Linked DNA regions of Homo sapiens: all the other regions are linked to region 3. Evidence: promoter capture Hi-C in 16 types of primary human blood cells and fetal thymus (Javierre and others, 2016). All regions are on one chromosome and are shown on one strand. Each heading gives the region's core, a stretch centred on a gene start or on the middle of the fragment in contact. The rest is flanking DNA. Distances are from core to core; before and after follow the strand shown.

The links. Contacts are between HindIII fragments. The CHiCAGO score rates a contact against its expected background, and 5 or more counts as called.
Region 1: a contact is called between the fragment with the promoter of HAUS5 here and the fragment with the promoter of NPHS1 in region 3, in 3 of 17 cell types (M1 macrophages, M2 macrophages and M0 macrophages). The highest score is 7.1, in M1 macrophages.
Region 2: a contact is called between a fragment that was not itself captured here and the fragment with the promoter of NPHS1 in region 3, in 1 of 17 cell types (M0 macrophages). The highest score is 5.8, in M0 macrophages.
Region 4: a contact is called between the fragment with the promoter of CLIP3 here and the fragment with the promoter of NPHS1 in region 3, in 10 of 17 cell types (monocytes, fetal thymus, activated CD4 T cells and 7 more). The highest score is 10.6, in monocytes.

Annotation. Positions count from the first base shown.
Region 1 is chr19:35,611,410-35,614,109 of GRCh38, forward strand. HAUS5 (HAUS augmin like complex subunit 5) reads left to right here and starts at 1,326. Exons shown (of 19, transcript NM_015302.2): 1 at 1,326-1,483; 2 at 2,321-2,383; 3 at 2,459-2,491; 4 at 2,626-2,650. The coding sequence starts at 1,386. It overlaps HAUS5-DT (HAUS5 divergent transcript), which reads right to left and starts at 1,255. Exons shown (of 2, transcript NR_186318.1): 1 at 1,209-1,255. RefSeq lists enhancers at 1,060-1,615, 1,204-1,463. The HindIII fragment of the contact is 7,658 bases long and covers 1-2,700 here.
Region 2 is chr19:35,636,944-35,639,689 of GRCh38, forward strand. It overlaps RBM42 (RNA binding motif protein 42), which reads left to right. Exons shown (of 10, transcript NM_024321.5): 9 at 215-409; 10 at 499-742. The coding sequence ends at 611. Among named protein-coding and RNA genes, the nearest start is that of ETV2, 3.4 kb to the right of the region's middle. The HindIII fragment of the contact is 186 bases long and covers 1,396-1,581 here.
Region 3 is chr19:35,851,254-35,853,953 of GRCh38, forward strand. It overlaps NPHS1 (NPHS1 adhesion molecule, nephrin), which reads right to left and starts at 1,251. Exons shown (of 29, transcript NM_004646.4): 1 at 527-1,251; 2 at 204-419; 3 at 9-131. The coding sequence starts at 584. It also overlaps a transcript of KIRREL2 not described here. RefSeq lists enhancers at 1-537, 538-1,179. The HindIII fragment of the contact is 3,857 bases long and covers 1-2,700 here.
Region 4 is chr19:36,031,611-36,034,359 of GRCh38, forward strand. CLIP3 (CAP-Gly domain containing linker protein 3) reads right to left here and starts at 1,263. Exons shown (of 14, transcript NM_015526.3): 1 at 1,114-1,263; 2 at 582-805. The coding sequence starts at 747. The region is part of intron 3 of LOC101927572 (a long non-coding RNA gene); the gene reads left to right. The HindIII fragment of the contact is 8,202 bases long and covers 1-2,749 here.

The sequences.
Region 1 (2,700 bases), core at 76-2,575, 240 kb before region 3:
CTATTGTGAACTGTGCATACGAAGGATCTAGATTGCGCACTCCTTATGAGAATCTAATGCTTAGGCGGGGCATGGTGGCTCACACCTGTAATGCTAGCACTTTGGGAGGCTGAGATGGGCTGATCACTTAAGGTCAGGAGTTCAAGACCAGCCTGGCCAACATGGTGAAACCCCGTCTCTACTAAAAATACAAAAATTAGCTGGGCATGGTAGCGGGCGCCTGTAATCCCAGCTACTCAGGAGGCTGAGGCAGTAGAATCGCTTGAACCCCGGAGGCAAAGATTGCGCTGAGCCGAGATCGGGCCACTGCACTCCAGCCTGGGTGAAAGAGGGAGACTTCACCTCAAAAAAAAAAACAGGGAAGAAAAAAAAAAAGAGAGAGAGAGACAGAGAATATAATGCCTCACGACCTGAAGTGGAACAGTTTCATCCCGAAACCATCCACTGCTCCCACCCTCCATCCCCCAGACTGTGGAAAAATTGTCTTCCATGAAACCAGTCCCTGATGCTCAAAAGGTTGGGGACTGCTGGTCTAGCGCAGACCTCTCACACCTGCTGTGTCCCAAATTGACCCACCCCTGCTGCTTATTTTTACCACCCCTACCTGGTGGTGCGTCTGTCTCCCCACTCAACTGTGAGCTCCGTACAATAGGGACCAGGGCTGTTGTGGTCACCATGGTGTCCCCAGCATCACCCAGCACAGGGTCAGCTCCCTGAGTTTATGGAATGGTAAGCACGAATGAATGGGAAAACGCATGCCAGGGAAATGTTAGGGTCATGCTCTCTGCCCCTACCCTCCACTCAGACATGAGACACCTGTTTCTGAAATCAAAGAGCAGTAAGTCCAGGATCTCATTGCCTGGTTCCAGTCCTCCTAGGACGCAAGTCCCATTTTGTCAAGAAAATAAAGGGGGTGAGCGTGGTGGCTCACGCCTGTAATCCCAACATTTTGGGAGGCCGAGGCGGGAGGATCGCTTGAGCCCAGGAGTTCAAGAGCCCAGAAGCTGAGACTAGCCTGGGCAACAAGTGAGATCCCATCTCTATTAAAATAAAAGTGTTTAGTTAAAAGAAGAAAAAGAAAATAAATGGAAGCATCAAGGACTGTTTTGCCTCTTTCGGGTTAGCTGGTAGTGAGCGGGAGAACGAGGGAAGGCGGGCGGGGCTGCAGTCTCTCCACGCCCTTTTCATTTCCACTCAAGGAGACCTACCTGGGAAGAGTGAGCGCTGCAAGACCCAGCCTGACCGCGCTAAGATTACTATGCAGCGCCCGAGCCCGCTGTCTGCCCGGCAACCGATGACGTCACTGTTGGCGCGCCCGTGACGTCAGAGGCGGGCGCCACACTTGAAGAGGCTGAGGGAGGCGGTGTCGCCGCCGCGGCGCTGTCATGGAGCTAGCGCAGGAAGCGCGGGAACTGGGTTGCTGGGCGGTCGAAGAGATGGGGGTGCCCGTGGCGGCCCGGGCCCCGGAATCGACGCTGCGCAGGTGAGGACCGCTCCTGGAGTGAGGACACCCCACCCTGGAGATTGAGTCTCCGGGAGTGAGAACTCCACCCCTCATTGAGGACTCGACTCCCCCCAATTCCCCATCGAGAGTGACCCGACTTACTGAGGGCTCCCTACCCTGGGAGGCTCCCCAGAGTGAGGTCCCTAGCACTGGTGAGGATCCTCCACGAGTTAGCTAAGACCTCGCTCCTTATGGAAATAGGATCTCCAGAGTGAGGCTGTCCCCGCAGCACCTCCCCTCCCTCCCTTAACCTAACCAAGAAGGACACTCAGGAGTTAGCCGTGGCCACCCCATCGGGGATTGAAGCTGTAGGAGTGATGCCCCACGTCTGGTCATGAGATGGCACTTCCTGGCAGTACATCCCCCACCTCCACCTCTGGATGTGACTGGGATAACCCACTCCCAGGAGAAAGGGAGCACCCGCCTCTCCCGCGCTCCCCCACCACCCGCCTTCCCAGGGAATGAGAATAACACCACACTTAGTGCAAACATCCAGTCCCTACAAAAAAAATGTTTTACCAATTAGCCGGGTGTAGTGGTGCCTGCCTGTAGTCCTAGCTACTCTGGAGGCTGAGGTGGGAGGATCGCATGAGCCCAGGAGGTTGAGGCTGCAAGGAGCTATGATCGTACCACTGCGACAGAGCGAGACTGTCTCTTAAAAAAAAAAAAAAAAAAAAGGCAAAAAAAAGTTTGGGCCTTCCCTCCTCAAGAAGTGAGAACTCCCTAGTAAAAACTCCCTACCACCATCACCCTAGGAATGAGGATCCCACACCCTGTGTGCTGCCCCAGGCATATGCTTACACACTGTCCCCACAGGCTGTGTCTGGGCCAGGGGGCTGACATCTGGGCCTACATCTTGCAGCATGTGCACAGTCAGAGGTAAGCTGGGCTAGAGCAGGGGAGGGGGCACAGGTGAGGCCCATAGTAACTCCTCTTTCTGCCTCTGCACTGTAGGACTGTCAAGAAGATCCGGGGAAACCTACTCTGGTAACTGCTTCTTAAAGCTATCCCCTCCTGTCTTCCCCACTCCCATTTAGCCCTGTCCCCACCACAGCATCACACCTATTGCCCTCCCCCCTAGAAGCCCCACTCATCCGCTGACTCTGGCCTCGTTTTCCTAGGTATGGCCACCAGGACAGTCCACAGGTGAGAAGCATATGCTACAAGATTCTCTTTCATCCGAAAAATGACTTGTA
Region 2 (2,746 bases), core at 239-2,738, 210 kb before region 3:
TCAGTGTAAAAGCATGGTTGGGAGTGCCAGAAATGGAAACACCCCTCCAGGTGCCAGCAGAGCTCCTGGCGCAGGGTCAGTAGGTGTTGACCATTATTACTAAGAGGTCCCTAGGCAGAGACTAGATACCTCCGAAAAGGTGGGATCGTTCAGACAAGGTAGACACTGGGCAAGGCCTCTGCATCCTCTGATGTCATCTCTTCCCCATCCCCAGATGACTTCCGGATCTTCTGTGGGGATCTGGGCAATGAGGTGAACGATGACATCTTGGCACGCGCCTTCAGCCGCTTCCCATCCTTCCTTAAGGCCAAGGTGATCCGTGACAAGCGCACAGGCAAGACCAAGGGCTACGGCTTCGTCAGCTTCAAGGACCCCAGCGACTACGTGCGCGCCATGCGTGAGATGAATGGTGGGTGCGGCCTCCCCTGGGAACTGCAGGCGCGGCAGGCGCTGGCCTAAGCCTGACCCGAGCCTGCCTTGAACCCTCTGTCTCCACAGGGAAGTATGTGGGCTCGCGCCCCATCAAGCTTCGCAAGAGCATGTGGAAGGACCGGAATCTGGACGTGGTCCGCAAGAAGCAGAAGGAAAAGAAGAAGCTGGGCCTGAGATAGGGTCTGTGGCCAGGCACCCGCTCCCACCTGGCCGGGCGCTGGCTCCTCCCTCAGTTCTCTTTGGAAAACCCCCAGCTGTCCACCCATCCCCTGCCCCAAAACCAGTTTCAATAAATTTACGTTCATTTCCACCCCTGGCTGGGCATGGAAGCACGCTGTGGGGAGCAGGGCTTGGCTTCCCCACAGCTGGAAATGGCGGGGAGCCTTGAGAGTTTACCCAGGCAAACACCCAGGCGGGGGCTTCTGAGCCCTTCCTGCGCACCCATTCCCTCTTCAAACCTCTTCCACACATGCTGAGTGCTGCTTATTCCAGAGGAGAAAGGGGGGCCAATGGCAAGGGTGAAGCCAAGCTGAGGCCCATCCCCGTGTCCTGGCTACTTCCTGTGTTCTCAGCACCAAGGTAGGAGATCTAGGCCCTTCCCTTCTGGAGCTCACAGGCTTCTAGGCCCTCTTCCATCCAGCAGACTCTCACCAAGGGTCTGAACAGTGCTTGAGGACACAATGGTGACTAAAAGTCCTGGGCCCTGCACCGTTAGAGCTCAAGGTCCAGTGCAGAAAATAGGCCCGGTGCCCTGACGATAAGAGCCCAGAGTGGTCAGGGCAGGATGGGGGCGCTGACCTGTGGGTGAGGGGGCCCTTCCTGAAGGAACCGTCCACCCCCAAGTCTCCTCTGGGGCTTTCCAGCTTCTCCAGTCTGCCATGCCCAGCCAGCTCACCATGCTCTAAGTCTCGGTGGGCACCTCTATCTCTGTCTCTGTGGGTACCCCTCCATTTCTTGTCTCTAAGCTTCTATATCCCTGTTGGTCTCTGTTCTCTCCCTTGGAGCTGGGAAATGAAAAAGGAGGAGAGACCCACAGATAGAGAGAACAGAGACTTGGGGTCTGTTCCCCTCTCTTCCCAGCTCCAAGCTGGCCTCTGCCTGTCTGAAGAGGTGTCTGTGCAGGGCCTTGAATGCCAGGCTGAGGGCTTAAGCTTTACGCAGAAGGCAGCAGCAAGCCCCAAAAAGCTGAGAAAATTCAAGCAGCAGCAAGGTCCTGGGCAGCACAGATGTGCGCTGTAGAAAGGGCCCTGTGACCGGCTGGGTGCGGTGGCGCACGCCTGTAATCCCAGCACTTTGGGAGGCAGGCAGATCACTTGAGGTCACGAGTTCGAGACCAGCCTGGCCAACATAGTGAAACCCTGTGCCTACTGAAAAATACAAAAATTAGTTGGGCGTGGTGGCGGGCACATGTAGTCCCAGCTACTTGGGAGGGCTGAGGCAGGAGAATCGCTTGAACCTGGTAAAAGGAGGTTGCAGTGAGCTGAGATCGCGCCACTGCACTCCAGCCTTAGTGACAGAGTGAGATTCTGTCTCAAAAAAAAAAAAAAAAAAACGCCCTGCGACCACCACTGTGGCTGGAAGTCTAGAAGGCTGGGGCAGGGACTGGGCCAGAGGAGGGAGATGGCAGGTTTGAGTATGGGGAGGAGTGGAGGGTCTCCCAGGGACACAGCCATCGGAACCCTCCATTAGGAGGGAGCAGGTTGGGCAGGACTTTGTGGGGCATAAGTCGGGGGATGGACAATACCAAGGCCTCTCAGGGACCGAGGTCCCCCAGGAGAGGTGTCGAATTTCTCCTGTTCCTGTCTTCCCCGCCTTACTGCCCCCTCTCTGACGTCACATTTTCCAGTCTGGTCAGAGGGTGAGAGCCTCCCTGGCAGGAAGTGCCCTTTAGCCCCCTGCCACCTGGGCCAGACCACCCAGCCCCAGGATCCTCAAAGCCCCTTCCCCCCATCACTAGTCTTTTCTACCCCTGACCCCCCTTGTACTGACAGCAAGCATAGGGTCACGGGAGGAGATGGGAAGAGAGGATGGCTCCAGAAAGGACGCTTCCAAATGCATGTGATTCTCACTTCCAAGTGGGAGCAGAACAGCAGGTACACGTGGACATGCAGAGTGGGGTAACAGGCACTGCAGACTCCAAAAGGTGGGAGCGTGGGGGAAGCTGAACAGTTACCAGTTGGGTACGTTGCTCACCATTCGGGTGCACTAAAGGCCCAGGCCAGTATACTGGATATACTGACATATATCCAGTAAGGAATCTGCACTTGTACCCCCTAAATGTTTATCTTTTTTTTTAATGCACACAAGTCTTCCT
Region 3 (2,700 bases), core at 1-2,500:
ACCCATACCCAGGATGGAGAGGATCACTCTGGGAGACACGAGCTCGGGCCCCATCTCAGAGCGGCCGACCTGGCACTCATACTCCGCGTCATCGCTGAGGTCACAGGCCTCGATGTGCAGGTGGAATTCACCTGCAGGGGGAGCCGGAAGTCAGGGCCGCAGCTTCCGCTGGTGGCTGAGGGTCTCAGGCTCTGATCCCTTACCTCTAGCAGGGTCCCCTTCCAGGCGGTACCTCGGGAAGCCTGGGATCCTGGGGTCGGGGCCCAGGAGCAGCCCATCTTTGGCCCATTGCACCGCACTGCCAGGGGTGCTGACCCCACAACGCAGCTCCACTGAGGCCCCCTCCACCACCGTCAGGTTTTCAGGCAGGGCCCAGAAGCCCCGGGGAACGGAGGCAGGAATCGCCAACTGCGCCAGGCCTGAGGACACAGCGCGGTGCAAGGAAAGGGCAGAGGGTTTGTCTAGGGAAGGTAAGTGGGAAATGGGGGCCACTTGGCGCTGGGTACAAGGCTGGGATCCCACTCACCTTCAGTCAGCAGCCCCAGGAGCAGGAGAGAAGCCCTGAGCGTCGTCCCCAGGGCCATCACAGGTCCCCCTACTGTGACCCCCACAGCGCCCGCTGCCAGCCACCTGCGTCTGTCTGGCTTTCTCTGGGTCCCTCTCTGTGTGTCTCTGCCACCTGCTTTTCTTTTTTATCTCTTTCCGTTACTCTCCTCCCTTTCTCGTTTTCCTCTTCCCCTCTTCCCTGTGAGTATCTCTCTCTGTCTTGCTCTCAGTCTCAATCTCTGAGTCTCTTTCTCTGTCTCTTTAAAAAAACTTTTTTTTCTTTTTTCTTTTTTTTTTCTTTTTTTTTTTTTTAGAGACGGGGTCTCACTATGTTGGCCAGGTTGATCTCAGACTCTTTCCTTCAAGCCATCCTCCCACCTTGGCCTCCCCAAGTGTTGGGATTACAGGCGTGAGCCACTGCGCCCAGTCTCTTTATCTTTCCATCTTTCTCTCCTTGTCTAAGCCGTTCTCTCTCCTTTTGTCTCTGTCTCTTCCTCTCTCTCTGTCTCTCTCTCTCTCTCTCTCTCAATCTCTATCTTCTCTCCTGCCACCCCTCACTCCTGCTCCTTGTCTCACTACTCACAGCCTTTCAAGAAGGACCTGCAGCCCAGAGTCCAGCAGGCCAGGAGCCTAGGAGAGCGATGAGGCTGATGCAGGCACTGGCAGAGTCAGCCCTGCTCTCTGACCCAGCTTGAGCTCATTCTCACAGTGCAACCTCCCCCAGGTACCTTCCAGAGCCCCCAGCTCTGGCCTCTGCCCAGCAGGCTCCTCCCAGCTGGCCCAGCTGGAGCATAAAATCCCCTGTCAGCACATGCCAGGCGCGTTCCTCGGTGCCTCCCCAGCCTCCGTGACCCCAGGGCCTGGCTTAGGCTGGGAAGATGGGAGAAGTCAGATCAAGGTGGTCTCCCAGCTCAGCAGGGGAGCAGCCAGCTGGGCCCCCAGCTCTTCCTTGCCCTGATACATGACCTTGGCAAGTCTCTTTCTTTCTTTCTTTCTTTTCTTGAGATAGTCTTGCTCTGTTGCTCAGGCTGGAGTGCAGTGGCATCTCGGCTCACTGCAACTTCCACCTCCCATGGCTTGAACCTCCCAGGTTCAAGTAATTCTCCCACCTCTGTCTCCCAAGTAGCTGGTGCTACAGGTATATAGCACCATGCCTGGCTAATTTTTGTATTTTTACTAGAGACGGGGTTTCATCATGTTGGCCACGCTGGTCTCGAACTCCTGACCTCAGGTGATCCATCTGCCTCAGCCTCCCAAAATGCTGGGATTACAGACATGAGCCACCGCACCTGGCCTCCCTTCCTTTTTTAGTAGACATCAGTGCCTAAATGATGTCAGGGATCTCTGCTGGGGAGGATGCAAGAGTGAGTGTGACAGGCTGGGAGAGTGTGGGAGAGAGGGAAGATATGCATGTGTGTACGTGGGTGTGAGAGTGGGGAAGGTTAGAGTGAACTGCGATCTGTAATAAGCATGTGGAGAGCGTGTGTGTGACAGTGTCTTACGTGGGAGTGCACAGGGTGTGGGCGGGAGTAAAAGGCAGAGTCCAATTCCACCGGCCCCCAGTGTGGGTGCAGTGTGAGCCCAAAGTGGGCGCCCTTTGGCAAGGACTGCATGAGCTTTCTTCTCCCTCTTTTTCTTGCCCTCTCTCCCATCTCTTCTTTCCTTCTCCATGTCTCTCTCTCTCCCTCCCTCTATCTATCTTGATTTATCTTTCTTTCTTTTGAGATGGAATCTTGCTCTGTTGCCCAGGCTGGAGGGCAGTGGCATGATCTTGGTTCATTGCAGCCTCAACTTCCTGGGCTCAGGTGATCCTCCTGCCTCAGCCTCCTGAATAGCTGGGACTACAGGTGCACACCACCACTCCAGCTAATTTTTTAAAATTTGTTTGTAGAGACAGGGTCTTTCTCTATTGCCCAGGCTGGAGTGCAGTGGTGTGATCATGGCTCATTGAAGCCTCAAACCTCCTAGGCTCAAGTGTTCTTTCTGCCTCAGCCTCCTGAGTAGCTGGGACTACAGGCCCGCATCACCACTCTGGCTATTTTTTTTTTTTTTTTTTTTTTTTTGAGAGGGAGTCTTGCTCTGTCACCCAGGCTGGAGTGCAATGGTGCGATGTTGGCTCACTGTAACCTCCGCCTCCCAGGTCCAAGCGATTCT
Region 4 (2,749 bases), core at 13-2,512, 180 kb after region 3:
CTTTCCCCTGACCCTTCTCTTAGTTAACCCCAACTCACCCTCCAGTCTTCTCAACTGTAACCTCCTCAGGGAAACAATGTCTTAAAAAACTCTTGCAGCAGCTTGTTTATGGTAAATACAATTTTCATAATGTCTTGTAATTACATATTTATATTACATTATATTTTTCTTTCTTGCATATAAACCTAAATGTGAAAAATTACATTATGGTTTAATACCTATTTGTGTGGCTGTTACTGAGGCCTGTGAGTTGTCTCAGGGCAAAGACTGGGTCTCTCTTGCCCCCTGCTGTGGCCCCAGCCCCTAGCATAAAGCCAGGTCCACAGCCGCTTTCAAAAAATGATTGTTGAATGACTAAATGATGGAATGATGTGTCATGAGTCAAAGACTAGGAGTATTACAATTCCATTCTCCAATGGGTGAATGAATGAATTAACGAGGGGTGCTCTGCAGCCAAGATTCCTCTGGACCACCTTCAAATTCCCCAGAATTCTCCCACCATCACCACCAGCAGAGCACAGCCCACCCTCCCCGGCCACCCAACGCTCCAGGCCAGATTCCAGGGTGGGGACAGTGGTTACCGTAGTCCTTAGGGAGGGGGGCAGGTGCCGAGGGGTGCACAACAGGCTTCTGCCGGCGCTCCTGGGTGGGGCTGGGGGCCTCGGGGACGGGTTCATCCTCCTCCTCCTCTTCTTCCTCCTCTCCTCGGGGTGGCGGGGCCATCGGGGCAGGATCTGTCTTAGTCATGGTCCTCGGTGGCCCTCGGGGGGCGGGTGCAGAGTTGGGGGCAGCCTTCAGGCAAATCCTGGAGGCAGAGGTCAGCTGGAGAGGGTGCCCGGCAGGCTCCAGGGTCCAAGCCCCTAGGAGCTTCCAGGGCCCCGGGTGGCCTCCGCGCAACTGGATCTTGGGCAACCATAGGGACCCCCGTTACCCATAGAGGGCCCCGGTGTGTGCGCCCAGCGCCTGCCACCTCCCCCAGGCCCAGCCCCCCATTCTTCTCCTCCCGCGTCAGGCCCCTCAGTCGCGGCTGCCCCCTCCCCGGGTTTGTTTATCTCGGGATTCAGGATGCTTCGCCCCTCCCCTTCTCCGCGGGCCGCCCCCTCCCCATCTTACCTCGGGCAGACAGCGCTGGGGACCAAAGTGGAGACTGGGGAGACTGTGGGAGCAATGGGGTGTCGGTGTCAGGGGACGTGATGGGGGAGGCAAGGGAGACAGAGAGAAGGGGACGAGGCCCAGACGCCGACAGGGGGTGGGGGCGGAGAGGGAGGGGCGCGACTGCGCATGCGCCTGCTGCCCCCCTACCGGCGGCGGGGGAGGAGGGACCAGGAGGAGGGACCGGGAGGCGCTCGCATTGATGGAGGGGCCAGAGGCGGCGACTGAAAGGGGAGAGCCTCCGGGCACTGGGAGAGGAAGAGATGGCTACGGAAAGGAGCGAGATGAGCAGATACAACGGCAAAAGAGAGGGCTGAGAGAGCGGACACAGATCTTCTCCATCCCCTTCCCCCACGCCTGCAAACCAGGCCGGTGAGGGCAGTGGTCTTGGGGCGTGGTGACGATGGGGACCCTCTAGGGGACCCTCTCTCTAGGACCCTAGACCGGACCCCTTCTCCAAGCTCACCATTCATAATGGGTGCCTCAGAGGGGTGATTTCCTAGAGACTCCTATCATGATCATCTCATCCTTACCATCATAATGCGAGGCTCACACACTGGGGCCCAGAGGTTAAGCAGCTTGCCCAAAAGTACATGAGTAGGTGATGGAGCGAACATTTGAAACCAGACAGTCTGTAAAGTCTGATTTTTATTTTTATTATTTCCTAGACAGGGTCTCACTCTGTCACCCAGGCTACTGTGCAGTGTTGTGATCTTGGCTCACTGCAGCGTCAAACTTCTGGGCTCAAGCCATCCTCCCACCTCAACCTCCCGAGTAGCCGAGACCACACGTGCATGCCACCATGTCTGGAGAATTTTTTTTGAGACAGGGTTTTGCCATGTTGCCCAGGCTGGTCTTGAACTCCTGACCTCAAGGGATCCTCCTGCCCCTGCCACCCAAAGCGCTGAGATTACAGGCACGAGTCACCATGCCCAGCTTTGATTCTTAATCACCATGCTACATGCCTGTAGCAGTGTCTGGGAAACAGATCTGCCGATTGACCCCTCCAACTCTCTCAGAACCTGTATCTTCCCCACGGAGGCCTCCTGAAGCCAGCCCAGGGTCCTGGCTCCATTGTCATGGCTTGGCTTCCCACCTGGAGCTGTAGCCTGCTCTGCCTCAAATCATCCCAGCCTGGATGGGGCTGGGTGACAGCCTTGAACACCTCATCCTTCTAATGCACAGGTCCAGTAGCTCCATCTCCAAAAGATTTCCAGGATCTCACTCTCCCCACCGCTACCCTGGGCCCTCATCTTGGTCCATCCTTCTTCTTCTGCCACCAGCACTACGGCAGCAGCCTCTTACCTGCTGTCCCCGTCCTCCTCCAACATGCAGCCACAGGGACCCATGAACACCTGTCACTTTGGAGCCCTCTTTCCCTCAGAGGGGTCTGCCTGCTGCACCTCACTCCAGGTAGAAGCCAAGGCTCTCAGCCATGGCCCACAAGGGCCTATGTGAACCTGCCCCATCATCTCTGCACTCACCTCCTCTCACCCTCTTTTGTTCACTCCACCCCAGCCACACTGGCCTCCTTGCTTCTCCCTACCCCAGGACCTTTGCACTGGCTCTTTTTTTTTTTTTTTTTTGAGATGGCAGT